4 separate regions of the Homo sapiens genome follow, and all the other regions are linked to region 2. Evidence: promoter capture Hi-C in 16 types of primary human blood cells and fetal thymus (Javierre and others, 2016). All regions are on one chromosome and are shown on one strand. Each heading gives the region's core, a stretch centred on a gene start or on the middle of the fragment in contact. The rest is flanking DNA. Distances are from core to core; before and after follow the strand shown.

Region 1 (2,773 bases), core at 150-2,649, 540 kb after region 2:
GAGGGCCAGTTTGAGTTCCAAAACTGAAGAACTTGGACTCCAATGTTCAAAGGCAGGAAACATCCAGCTCAGGAGAAAGATGTAGGCTGGGAGGCTAGGCCAGTCTCTCTTTTCACATTTTTCTGCCTGCTTATATTCTAGCCATGCTGGCAGCTGACTAGATTGTGCCCACCCAGATTAAGGCCGTGTCTGCATTTCCCAGCCCACTGATTCAAATGTTAATCTCCTTTGGCAACACCCTCACAGACACACCCAGGATCAATACTTTGTATCCTTGAATCCAGTCAGATTGACATTCAGTATTAAGCATCACACTTAGGCAACCCCAACCCTATCTCTATCAAGTTTCAGAAAATTACTATCATCACCTCCCAAAAAGTTTTCTGGTGCCTCTTTCCAGTAAATCCCAGTGCCATGGCCACAGATCCAGCCTTTGCTCAAATGATTCCACAATAAATTTGTGTTTCTAGTAGTTAGTAGTTAGAAATCTTTTAATTTGCCCAGGTTTTCATCACAAATCAAAGTGTTGTTTGATAAAATACTGTTAAATTTCAATAATAGGAGCAATGTTGTAGTAGTTTATAGTCTAAAGCATTTCAAATGTCGTAAACTATCTGATTTGATACTCCCCTACCCCCACCAAGCAAATTTATTTTACAGATGAAGACCTGATTACAGATGAACATCTGAGGCTGGTAGAGGTGGAAAAACACATTTGAGTGCAGTCAGAACCTAATCCCAGATTTGAAGATTCTGAAGCCAATGCTCTTTTCTGTTATTTCATATAGTGTAGTGTTCTAATTTTATTTTATTATGAAATGAGAATGCACAGATTGGCCATAAAATATAGAAACATAGATAAAGTTTCTTTTTTTTTTAACAAAATGAACCTACTTATTTTTCTCCATAATGTGCCAAAAAAGAAATTTTACTCAGTAAAAATGAGACACATGACGTGAGCCAGCACATCGCAGACACATGTGCAGGTTTGATGGAAATACCGTGTGGATGGACGGTCTTCACGGTGGTTTTGCACAGCACCTTGACCTATGCATTGCTAGTGAGGCATAACGCACAGGACATGTCACTAATGTTATGAAACATGTCATGCATTACAAGGTGATATCAATAATGTATATATATATTTGAATCTGTTTCTAAGTTTCACAGAAATTCTATAGCATTTACACCTCTGACTATTAAGATTATATTAAGAGCAACTTTCCTTGCCATAATATAAATAATGTTTATAAGTGATTTTTATGAATACAAAATGATTTTACTTTACACGTATCAGTTATTTTCCTGTGTCAACCCAAATAAACCTCTAGAGATGTCTACCAGTGGCTAAATTTTGTATCTTTTGTAGAGCCAGGGTTTCGCCATGTTGCTGGGGCTGGTCTCCAACTCCTGGCCTCAAGCAATCCGCCCACCTCTGCCTTCCAAAGTGCTGAGATTACAGGCAAGAGCCACTGTGCCTGGCAAAATTTGATTAATACTGATTTTAGTTTAAAACATGGTAGAAATGAAGTATATAAATGTCGACTTTGGCTTACAAGTAAATTTAATAAGCTACTTCTCATTCAGCATCTGATTGGAAGAGGTGATGCACCTTCCCCATAGATCTGTGATTATTTTACTTTACACAGAGCATTGGGCAAATATAAATTTCTCTGCAACTTCAAGAAATACCACTAGATGAGGATGAAGAAATTGCATCATATAAATCCCCAAGAGAAGGATAACAGAAATGGAGAAAAAGAGATCTACATGGTTTTGGAATATAGTAAGACTTGAGAAAGCTGAAACAGCACATGCCTATTAACGGCTAGAAAACATGGCCATAGAAAAACCAGATTGTCTTAGGAGTTTGATATGCAAGGTTTTTTGAAACTCAGTGGTATTCAGACAGTGGGTAAGCTACTTAGGAAAAATCAATCAATGCTGTTAACTGTTGGCTTGGTTCCAATATTTTGCCGAAATGGGCATATCTGATGCCATGGTATTTAAAAGCAAGCAGTGCAAGTAGCCTGGAGCTGTGGTGATTCAGCACATACATTCTCAGTTAATTTTCTGTTATCTGTCTTTCATGGGCCTGTTGTCACCAAGACCGGTGACCACTTATTTATTTTAATTTATCCTGAAAATTCATATCCAGTCTTCTGTAAATTTAATACCTTATGAATGTTTTCATCAAATCCCTCTGTCTTTACACCCCGCCCCCTCCACCTAACCATTGTTTCTGTGTGTGTCCGTGTCCTGATCACCTCTTCTTATAAATACTACAGTCACATTGGATTAGGGCATACCCTAGTGACCTCATTTTAACTTAGTTTTTTCTTTAAAGATTCGCTCTCCAAATGCAATCACATTCTGATGTACTGGGGATTAAGAATTCAGCATGTGAATTTGGTGGTGGTGGTGAATTCAGCCCCTAAAAGGAAGAAAAGATAATCAATTCACCAATGAAAGTAGGTGTATTTCCACACATAAAGGCCCTACTAAGTGCCCAGCACATTCAATAAAAAATACTTACCCTAAGGTATATTAACACCAAACTTAAAACCAGTAGGGGAAGAGAAACTAGATGCAAGGTGCAAAAATTATTGCTTGTAAAAGACCGAATGGCACTGAATTTTTTTAATTATTATTAGAGATGAGGGTCTTACTATGTTGCCCAGGCTGTTGTCTTTTTTGTTTTGTTTTTTGACACAGAGTCTCCCTCTGACTCAAACTCCTAGGCTCAAGTGATACTACTGCCTCCCAAGTAGCT
Region 2 (2,700 bases), core at 153-2,652:
TCTCAGTGTCTTCATGAAATAAAGATTTTCTGGCGGGATACTTTCTTTTTATAGGCTGTATCCTTAAATATGAAATTCAGCCATCCATCTGCTCTTCTAGGCCCTTGTCCTTAACCCATGTATACCTGCAACACATTTCAAGTAGAGGTCAGAAACAAGAGTCTGAGGATGAGATGTTGCTGAAGGATTAAGAGAATATGCCTCTTTGATCCCTAACTTCATGGAGACAGTTAATCTCAATTGGCAGAAATAATAAATATCAACAGGGTGTCTGGCTTTTTTCCCCCCAGTATAAAGTAATATAGAACCAGATTTGTTGCTGTTCATATTGCTAGTAAATTGGAGAACAATTATGAAAGAAATCTCTTGTTAAAAATGTTAATATACCTAAAATAAAAGCAGATTCAACTTGAGAATGTGATGTAAAATTCCATAGCAGATAAATCTTAAAATAAGAAATCAAAAAGTCACTCTACTTTAGGCTCATCTATCTTTTAAAAGTCCTTATTAAAATTTAAAAGAACTGAGATCTCCATGCTTGCTTCTTGTTTTCCTCATTGCAGTGAAAACTTCCCAAACAGTTTGAATGTGGAACAACAGTAAGCTGTTCCTAACCTGTTTGTCAGTCACTGGGCAGTTTTCTCAGTGCCTTTCCTGACATGTTTTAACATGACTTCTCCAGGGATCAGAATGAGGATTGCCCTGTTCTTTGTGGTACAATGAAAAGACTGAGATTATTTTATCAAAATGAGACAGTTGGGAAAGAGAAAAATCTTTGTCTCTCTCTTTAAAAAAAAACAATACGGATAAACGATTATGAAACAAATTTTAAGTTTTGGGTCCTGGGAAACAATTATAAGAGACTTTGACTTTTACTCATCTAATAAAGTAAATGTGGTTTAAAAAAAAATGTACTAAATAGGAGTGATTGCCAAAACATTGTTTCTACTTTTGAAGGCACAATATGTAGTTTATATTTCTGCCTGCCTGAGCTGGAAACAGTTGAAGCTTCATGGCTCACAGTGGTGCCTCATATCTTACTGTCAGCATTCTAATTTCTAGTTTTTCTTCAAACCTCAGAGTTAAGCAGAAGTATAATTACAGTTTTTAATCATTGCTGTGTCTTATCAACCACGGCTTTTAAGAAAATGAAAAATTTTTCGTTTACCTTTCATTGTGGTGGCTGGCTGTCCATTCACCTCATACGGTGTCTTCAAGTTGAAACAGGTTTCTTGTCTCTAATTAAGAATAAGCTTTGAAACTAAGGTCGGCAGGGAAGTGGATTTTCTGGTAAAGCATGAAAACGAAACATCTCCCCTACCAGACAAGGTAGGTATCTCCCTTACCCCTTTAGAGATTGTCCTTTGGGGCACCCTTTCAAATTCTCCTGCCAGGCGACTACTGGAACAACTTGCTCTCTTGCTAATGTAAATGACTCATAACTAAGAGTAGGTGAGATTTGTCGACTGGGGAAGAGTATTTCCTGAACCTGCAGGAATCAGATGGTGATTCACCTGAAGGAAACACAGAGGGCTGGAGCTTAGACTGCCAGAAGTCTGCTTAAGGAGTGGGGGATGAAGTCTCGGGTTGGGGCCTACTAACTCATCAGATCCAATTTTTAGGTCATTTTTTTTTTCCAGCCTCCTATTGCTATCTAGAAAACATGTATTTGCAGCCTTCCTGCCAATTAAATTTTGGATTAAAAGAAATAAGAATATGCTTTATGACAGATGAATTCTTTGAAAATATTATTCTACATATTATTTAAAGAGTATTGTTGTAATTGATAACTTTGGAAACTTGTAGTCTTATGAAACTAATGAAATCTGTAGACATATTTTTACACATACACAATAGACATATTTTTACACATACACAATGATAAGTATTCAAAATATGTTAAATTATTCAGGGGCTGGGTTCACTGACTCCTTTGAATGCTGACCTTTAACATAAAACAATTTATTTTATTGCTTTAAAAAAGCATCCAACAATGACAAATTTATATAATCATATCACTTTTTTTTTTTTTTTTTTTTTTTTTTTTTTGTGAGACGGAGTCTCACACTGTTGCCCGGGCTGGTATGCAGTGGCATGATCTCAGCTTGCTGCAACCTCCACCTCCCGGATTCAAGTGATTCTCCTGCCTCAGCCTCCTGAGTAGGTAGGATTACAGGTGCCCACGACTACACCCGGCTAATTTTTTGTATTTTTAGTAGAGACGGGGTTTCTCTATGTTGGCCAGGCTGGTCCTGAACTCCTGACCTCATGATCCGCCCGCCTCAGCCTCCCAAAGTGCTGGGATTACATGTGTGAGCCACTGCGCCCGGCCACTTTTTCTGATTTGTAAATAATTTTCTTGCTTTCAGATGAGAATCTCAAAGATTCTGATATTTTCTTGAATGCAACATTTAAATACATTTAAAAAAATAAAATTTCATCAAATGGAATCAAAACCTGTTATTGTGGATGAAGATAAATGAAAATAATCAAAGGTGAAAACTTTTTTGGAGTGAATAAATCTATAATAGGTATTACTTAGTGTTTACTTGTGTCTTAAGGAAATAATGTGTACGTACTAGTTGATTTTCCTTATGTTTTTACAGAAAAACAAATGGGTGTTTAACTTAAAAATCAAGAGTTGGGTATCAAAATTATATTTTTTGTATTTTCCTATCTGCTTCCTAACCATACAAAAAC
Region 3 (2,700 bases), core at 187-2,686, 600 kb after region 2:
TCTGATGGTTTTATAAATGGGAGATCCCCTGCATAAGCTCTTTTACCTGCCACTATGTAAGGCATGCCTTTGCTTCTCCTTTGCCTTCCACCATGATTGTGAGGCTCCCCAGCTATGCTGAACTGTCAGTCCATTGAAGCTCTTTCCTTTATAAATTACCCAGTCTAAGGTATGTCTTTATTAGCAGTGTGAGAACAAACTAATACACCTTGAGTCTCAGTCATGCTCTCCTCCACCAGCCCATAGTTTAAGAGATTACTTGCAGTTTCTGCTCTTGGCACATTTACTCCTCACCATTGTGGGCCATTCCAGGCCTGCTGGTTCTTGGCTCTCATCAGCCTTCTTCAGCACCCCCAGGGAAGCACAAAAACATGTCTATATATGTTCACACCAAAAGACAGCCCATGTTGGTGCAAGGTTTCTATCCTGAGCTTTCCTTTTGCTGAAACCTCCTACTGTTCACATGTTCGCTGATCAGAGTCCCCTGGAAGTCTTGTCAACACACGTTTCTGGGCCTATACCCAGAGTTTCTGATTCAGTAGCTCTGGGTGAGTTCCAATGACTTGATGTTCTAGCAGGTTCCCAGATGACGATGCTACTGGTTCTGGGACCACTTTTTAAGAACCACTGGCCTAAACCAGTACTTCCTCCAATTGTTCACATAGAGTTACATGTAAAATATAATAAAATAGCTCATATTTTTGGACCACAGTTGACCATGAGTAACTGAAACAACAAAAAGTGAAACAAGGAATAAGTGGGGACTACTGTAGATGGTTCAAATTTTTCTAATGTGTAGAAAAAAACATAGAGTAACGAGTTTCTCTTTCATAGACAACTATGGGCACATTTTTGAGCGCACATAAGTTTGTTCAAACAAGTTGGGTAAATACCTAGGAATGTGATTGCTGATTGTAGAGTAAGAAAATATATATGTGTTTTGTATATACATATAACACATCTTTCTCCATGTTTTTGTCTTCTTTATTTTATTTGTTGATATTTTGTCATTTCCTACACACATTTTCTATACATATTATATTAGATTTATATCTGTGTAGTTGAGCTACTGTAAATGGTATGGACTCTTTTTCTAATTTTAATGTTTAGTTGTTTATTGCTGGTATATAAGAAATCAATTGACTTTCAACCTTCTATCCTGTGACCCTTTTATATACACTTATCAATTACAGGAATTTATTGTCATTTCATTGGTATTTTAAAATAGAAAATTATATCATTTGTGAATATAGACAGTTTTATCTCTTTCCTTCTGATTGGTGTCCTTATAAGAAGAGGAAATTCAAACACACAGAGATACTAAGGATGCACACAGACAGAGGAAAAAATCACGTGAGGACACAGCAAGAAGGTGGCCATCTGCGAGTCATGGCGACAAGCCTAAGAAGAAGAAAAACCTGAAGGCACCTTGAGCCTGGACTTCTAACCTCCAGAGCGAAATAAAATTCCCTTGTTTAAACTACCCAGCCTATGGTACTATGTTATGGCAGCCCTAGCTAACAAATATAGAACCCTTAACATATTTATCATAGGTATTTTAAATTTTCTGTCTGAAATTCGAACATCTGTGTTACATTTGAGTCTGGGTCTTATGATTGCTTTGTCTCTTCAGACTGTGTATGTGTGAGTGTGTATATGTGCGCACATGCGTACACGCATGTTTTGCCTTTTTGTACATCTTGTAGTTTTTGCTGAAAGCCAAACATGTTGCATTGGGTAATTATTTTGCTGAAAGCCAAACATGTTGCATTGGGTAATTATAACTGAGATAAACTGTCCTTTACTGTCAGGATTTACATTAATCTGGCTGGAATCTAGGCTGTGTTTAATCTCAGCTGTAGCTGTGGGTGCCAGAGGCTTCATGTTCTTCTAGTCTCCTTGCTTTTGTCTTCTTTCTTGACTTTAGGATTCCCTAAGTACTCCTCCTCACAGAGAGTCTGCATCTTGCAGCTCTTTCCGATGTAATCCAGTGTTACTATATTGCAGTCCTGCTGGTGTGGTGGTAAAGTGTCAGTGAGGGGATGCCTTCTATATACTTAGGATGAAAACGCACACTTTTAGTCAGCCTGTGTCTGTGGGCTGTGACTTTCATAAGCATTTCTCCGGTTGTATAGTTTTTGTACCCTCTTAGTTGGGGCAGAAACACTAGAGGGAACTAAAGTGGGAGGAATGCTTTTTTCCAGCTTGGATAAGGCTCAGGTAAAGTCCTTTTATCTGCAGCGTAGTCCATTATGGAGGAGGCTGTGGGTATATTTTACATTGACTAGTTTTTCTTTCCCCTGCTAGTGCCACAAGGGAAACTTTCATGAATATTTACCATGAGAACCTGGAGGGGTTCCCAGAGGTAAAAACCCATAAAATTGTTGAAGCCTCTCTAAGATTGGGACCTCTAGGAGTTTTTTGCTCTCAAATAATCCATACTCAACCTCTAGGAATTTGTTAAAATTAATATTTTAGTTTTTCTGCCAGCTTATGGTGCTAATGGCTTCTGCTCCAGATAAGTTGCTCCACTGTGACTGTCTGGATTCACGTATGTATTCTTTTTCTACTGACCACTATAGCAAATTACTACAAACTTGGTGTCTTAAAACAACACAAATATATTATCTTAAAATTCTAGAAGTCAGAAGTCTGAAATCGTTTACATCAAGCTAAAATCAATTAGTCAGCAGGGCTATG
Region 4 (2,752 bases), core at 89-2,588, 630 kb after region 2:
GTCTTTGGTAGGAGCAAATACACATCATAAAATTATGTCCTCTACCTTTAGCAGCTGGGAAACATTACACACTACCACAATTCAATGGTGCCCTTTTAATTGCACATGCTTAAACAAAATACCGCATTATAATTACATTTGGCATTTCAAAGAGTCAAGAGTTCAAAACTGGAATGTGTTAGAATGAGAAAAATTATAACCAAATATCCCACATCAGGATGCAGCTTTTTGGACAAGCACAGTAATTCAGTTTCGGTATTTCATAAAAAGTGGTTTATTTCACTTTGCAATTTTCCATTTATTAGAAAATATCATTCATACAAAACAATATATAAATGCATATATTGACTTAAATAATTTTAGTAAATGATGCACCTATGTGTCCACTGCTGAGGTTAAGAAATAGAGACTGGCCAGTTTTTTCCAAATCCTCTATACATCTTCCCAATTATATCACCTTCCCATCCTACAAACAGAGGTTTTCGTCATTTTGACTTTTATAATAATCATCCCACGTTCTTTCGGCTTTAAATGATTTTACCACTTATGGATATATTTCTCCTATTTTTGAACCTTATGAATATGAATTCCTACACTATAATGTCTATGTCTTACTTATTTCATTCAATATGAGGTTTGGGTAGATTCACTGGGCAAAGCTCACATGTAACTGTCTCTCATTCAGTTTCCCTGCTGAACAGTGTTCCACCTTAAAACCAGTCTACAATGTATTTTCCATTCTACCATTGTCGGACATTTTGGTTATTTCCTGTAATATGTTATTAATTTTTATACATTTATTCCAGGAGTGAAATCCTTAGATCATATATTATGAGCATATTCAAACTTCCTATGAAATGTTGATCTATTTTTTAAATGTTTGGGCCAATTTATACATCATACCACCAATATTCATAAGTTCCTGTTGCTCCACATATATGCCAACATGACAGTGTCAGATTTAGTTTTTCACCTAAAGATTGGGTAAGACATGGTAACTCTTGTGGTTCTAACTTGCTTTTTTATTGCTAGTGAAGTTAGGCATCTTCTCATATTCCATAGTTTGAATGTAAGTGAGTAGAGTACAATGAGATATTTTGAGAGAGAGAAAGAGACCACATTCACCTAACTTGTATTACAGCATAACATTTAATTATTCTATTTTATTATTAGTTATTGTTGTGAATATATTACCCTGCCTACTTTGTAAATTAAACTTTATCATAGGTATGTATTTATGGGAGGGAAACATAGTGTGTACACACACACACACACACACACACACACACGGTTTAGTAGCATCCTCAGTTTCAGTCGTCCACTAGGGATCTTGGAACATATCCCCTGAGGATAAGGGGGAGACCACTGTATTGAGAATTTTGTGTTTCTTTTGAATTGTTAAACATGTTAGTCTTTGTCTTGCTTTTTTGTTCTGGATACTTCTTTTTTAGGAACTTTTAAGTATAAAATCAGCTTCTTTAATAGACAGAGGACTAGTTGAGTTGCCTATTTATCTTGAAATTCTCTGTTATTATTCTTTTGATATCTTTGGATTTTGTAACGAAATCCTCTCTCTCTTTCCTAGTATTGGTAATTTACATCCTCTATTTTTTTCTTTGTTAATCATTGTAGATATTTATTAAGTTTATTGGTCTTGCTTTTTTTTTTTTTAAAGCACAATTTAAAAAATTTGTTCATTGGCCAGGCGCGGTGGCTCACGCCTGTAATCCCAGCACTTTGGGAGGCGGAGGTGGACAGATCACGAGGTCAGGAGATCGAGACCATCCTGGCTAACACGGTGAAACCCCGTCTCTACTAAAAATACAAAAAATTAGCCAGGCGTGGTGGCGCCGCCTGTAGTCCCAGCTACTCAGGAAGCTGAGGCAGGAGAATGGCGTGAACCCTGGAGGCGGAGCTTGCAGTGAGTTGAGGCCTGGCCACTGCTCTCCAGCCTGGGGGACAGAGAGAGACTCCGTCTCAAAAAAAAAAAAAAAAAAAAAAGAAAAGAAAAGAAAAAGAAAAATTTGTTTATTGTTTTCTGTTTTCAATTTTAACAATTTCTGTTCTTATATGTATTACAAGATGCATTGCTTAACGACAGGGATATGCTCTGAGAAATGCATTGTTAGGCAATTTTGTTGTACAAACATCAGAGTGTATTTACACAAACCTAGATGGTATGACCTCCTGCACATCTGATATAGCACTAGGCTATATGGTATGCCTATTGCTGCTAGGCTACAAACCTATACAGTATGTTGCTCTACTGAATACTGCAGGCAACCACAACAGAATGGCACTTGTGTATCTATGTTTAGATACACAGATATAGCAAAGTTCATGCAATGCACTGGGACCTACAATGTCAACTAGGTGATAGGAATTTTCCTGCTCCATTATAATCTTTTGGGACTACTGTCGTACATGCAGTCCATCATTGACCAAAATACTGTTGTGACACATAACTGTATTTTCTTCTGCTTCTTATTTTACTATTGTTTTTATAGTTTCTTATACCGGAAATTGAGATTACAGAGACTTTCCTCCTTTTATAATGTATGTATTTACTGTTACACATCTTCCCTTTGTGCATTGCTTTAACTAAATTTGACTTAATTTGTTATGTTGCATTTTCATTCAAAATGTGTTCTAATTTCTCTTGAAACATTTTCTTTGACTCATATTATTTTGAATCATGAGCTTTAATTTTCAAATATTTGAAGGTTTTGTTTTTTTCTTTTGTTATTTATTT

What was found. The method cuts DNA at HindIII sites, captures the fragments that hold promoters and counts their contacts. A CHiCAGO score of 5 or more calls a contact.
Region 1: a contact is called between a fragment that was not itself captured here and the fragment with the promoter of GPR87 in region 2, in 1 of 17 cell types (neutrophils). The highest score is 8.7, in neutrophils.
Region 3: a fragment that was not itself captured here is called in contact with the fragment with the promoter of GPR87 in region 2 in 1 of 17 cell types (neutrophils); the score reaches 7.2 in neutrophils.
Region 4: a contact is called between a fragment that was not itself captured here and the fragment with the promoter of GPR87 in region 2, in 1 of 17 cell types (neutrophils). The highest score is 6.2, in neutrophils.

The regions. Positions count from the first base shown.
Region 1 is chr3:151,854,322-151,857,094 of GRCh38, forward strand. All of the region lies in intron 1 of AADACL2-AS1 (AADACL2 antisense RNA 1), which reads right to left. Among named protein-coding and RNA genes, the nearest start is that of SUCNR1, 18 kb to the right of the region's middle. The HindIII fragment of the contact is 7,050 bases long and covers 1-2,773 here.
Region 2 is chr3:151,315,418-151,318,117 of GRCh38, forward strand. It overlaps GPR87 (G protein-coupled receptor 87), which reads right to left and starts at 1,403. Exons shown (of 3, transcript NM_023915.4): 1 at 1,169-1,403. The region is part of intron 16 of MED12L (mediator complex subunit 12L); the gene reads left to right. RefSeq lists an enhancer at 789-1,988. The HindIII fragment of the contact is 4,276 bases long and covers 1,252-2,700 here.
Region 3 is chr3:151,919,150-151,921,849 of GRCh38, forward strand. The region is part of intron 1 of AADACL2-AS1 (AADACL2 antisense RNA 1); the gene reads right to left. Among named protein-coding and RNA genes, the nearest start is that of AADACL2-AS1, 7.7 kb to the right of the region's middle. The HindIII fragment of the contact is 3,389 bases long and covers 1-2,700 here.
Region 4 is chr3:151,941,522-151,944,273 of GRCh38, forward strand. All of the region lies in intron 1 of LOC107986047 (a long non-coding RNA gene), which reads right to left. Among named protein-coding and RNA genes, the nearest start is that of AADACL2-AS1, 15 kb to the left of the region's middle. The HindIII fragment of the contact is 7,614 bases long and covers 1-2,752 here.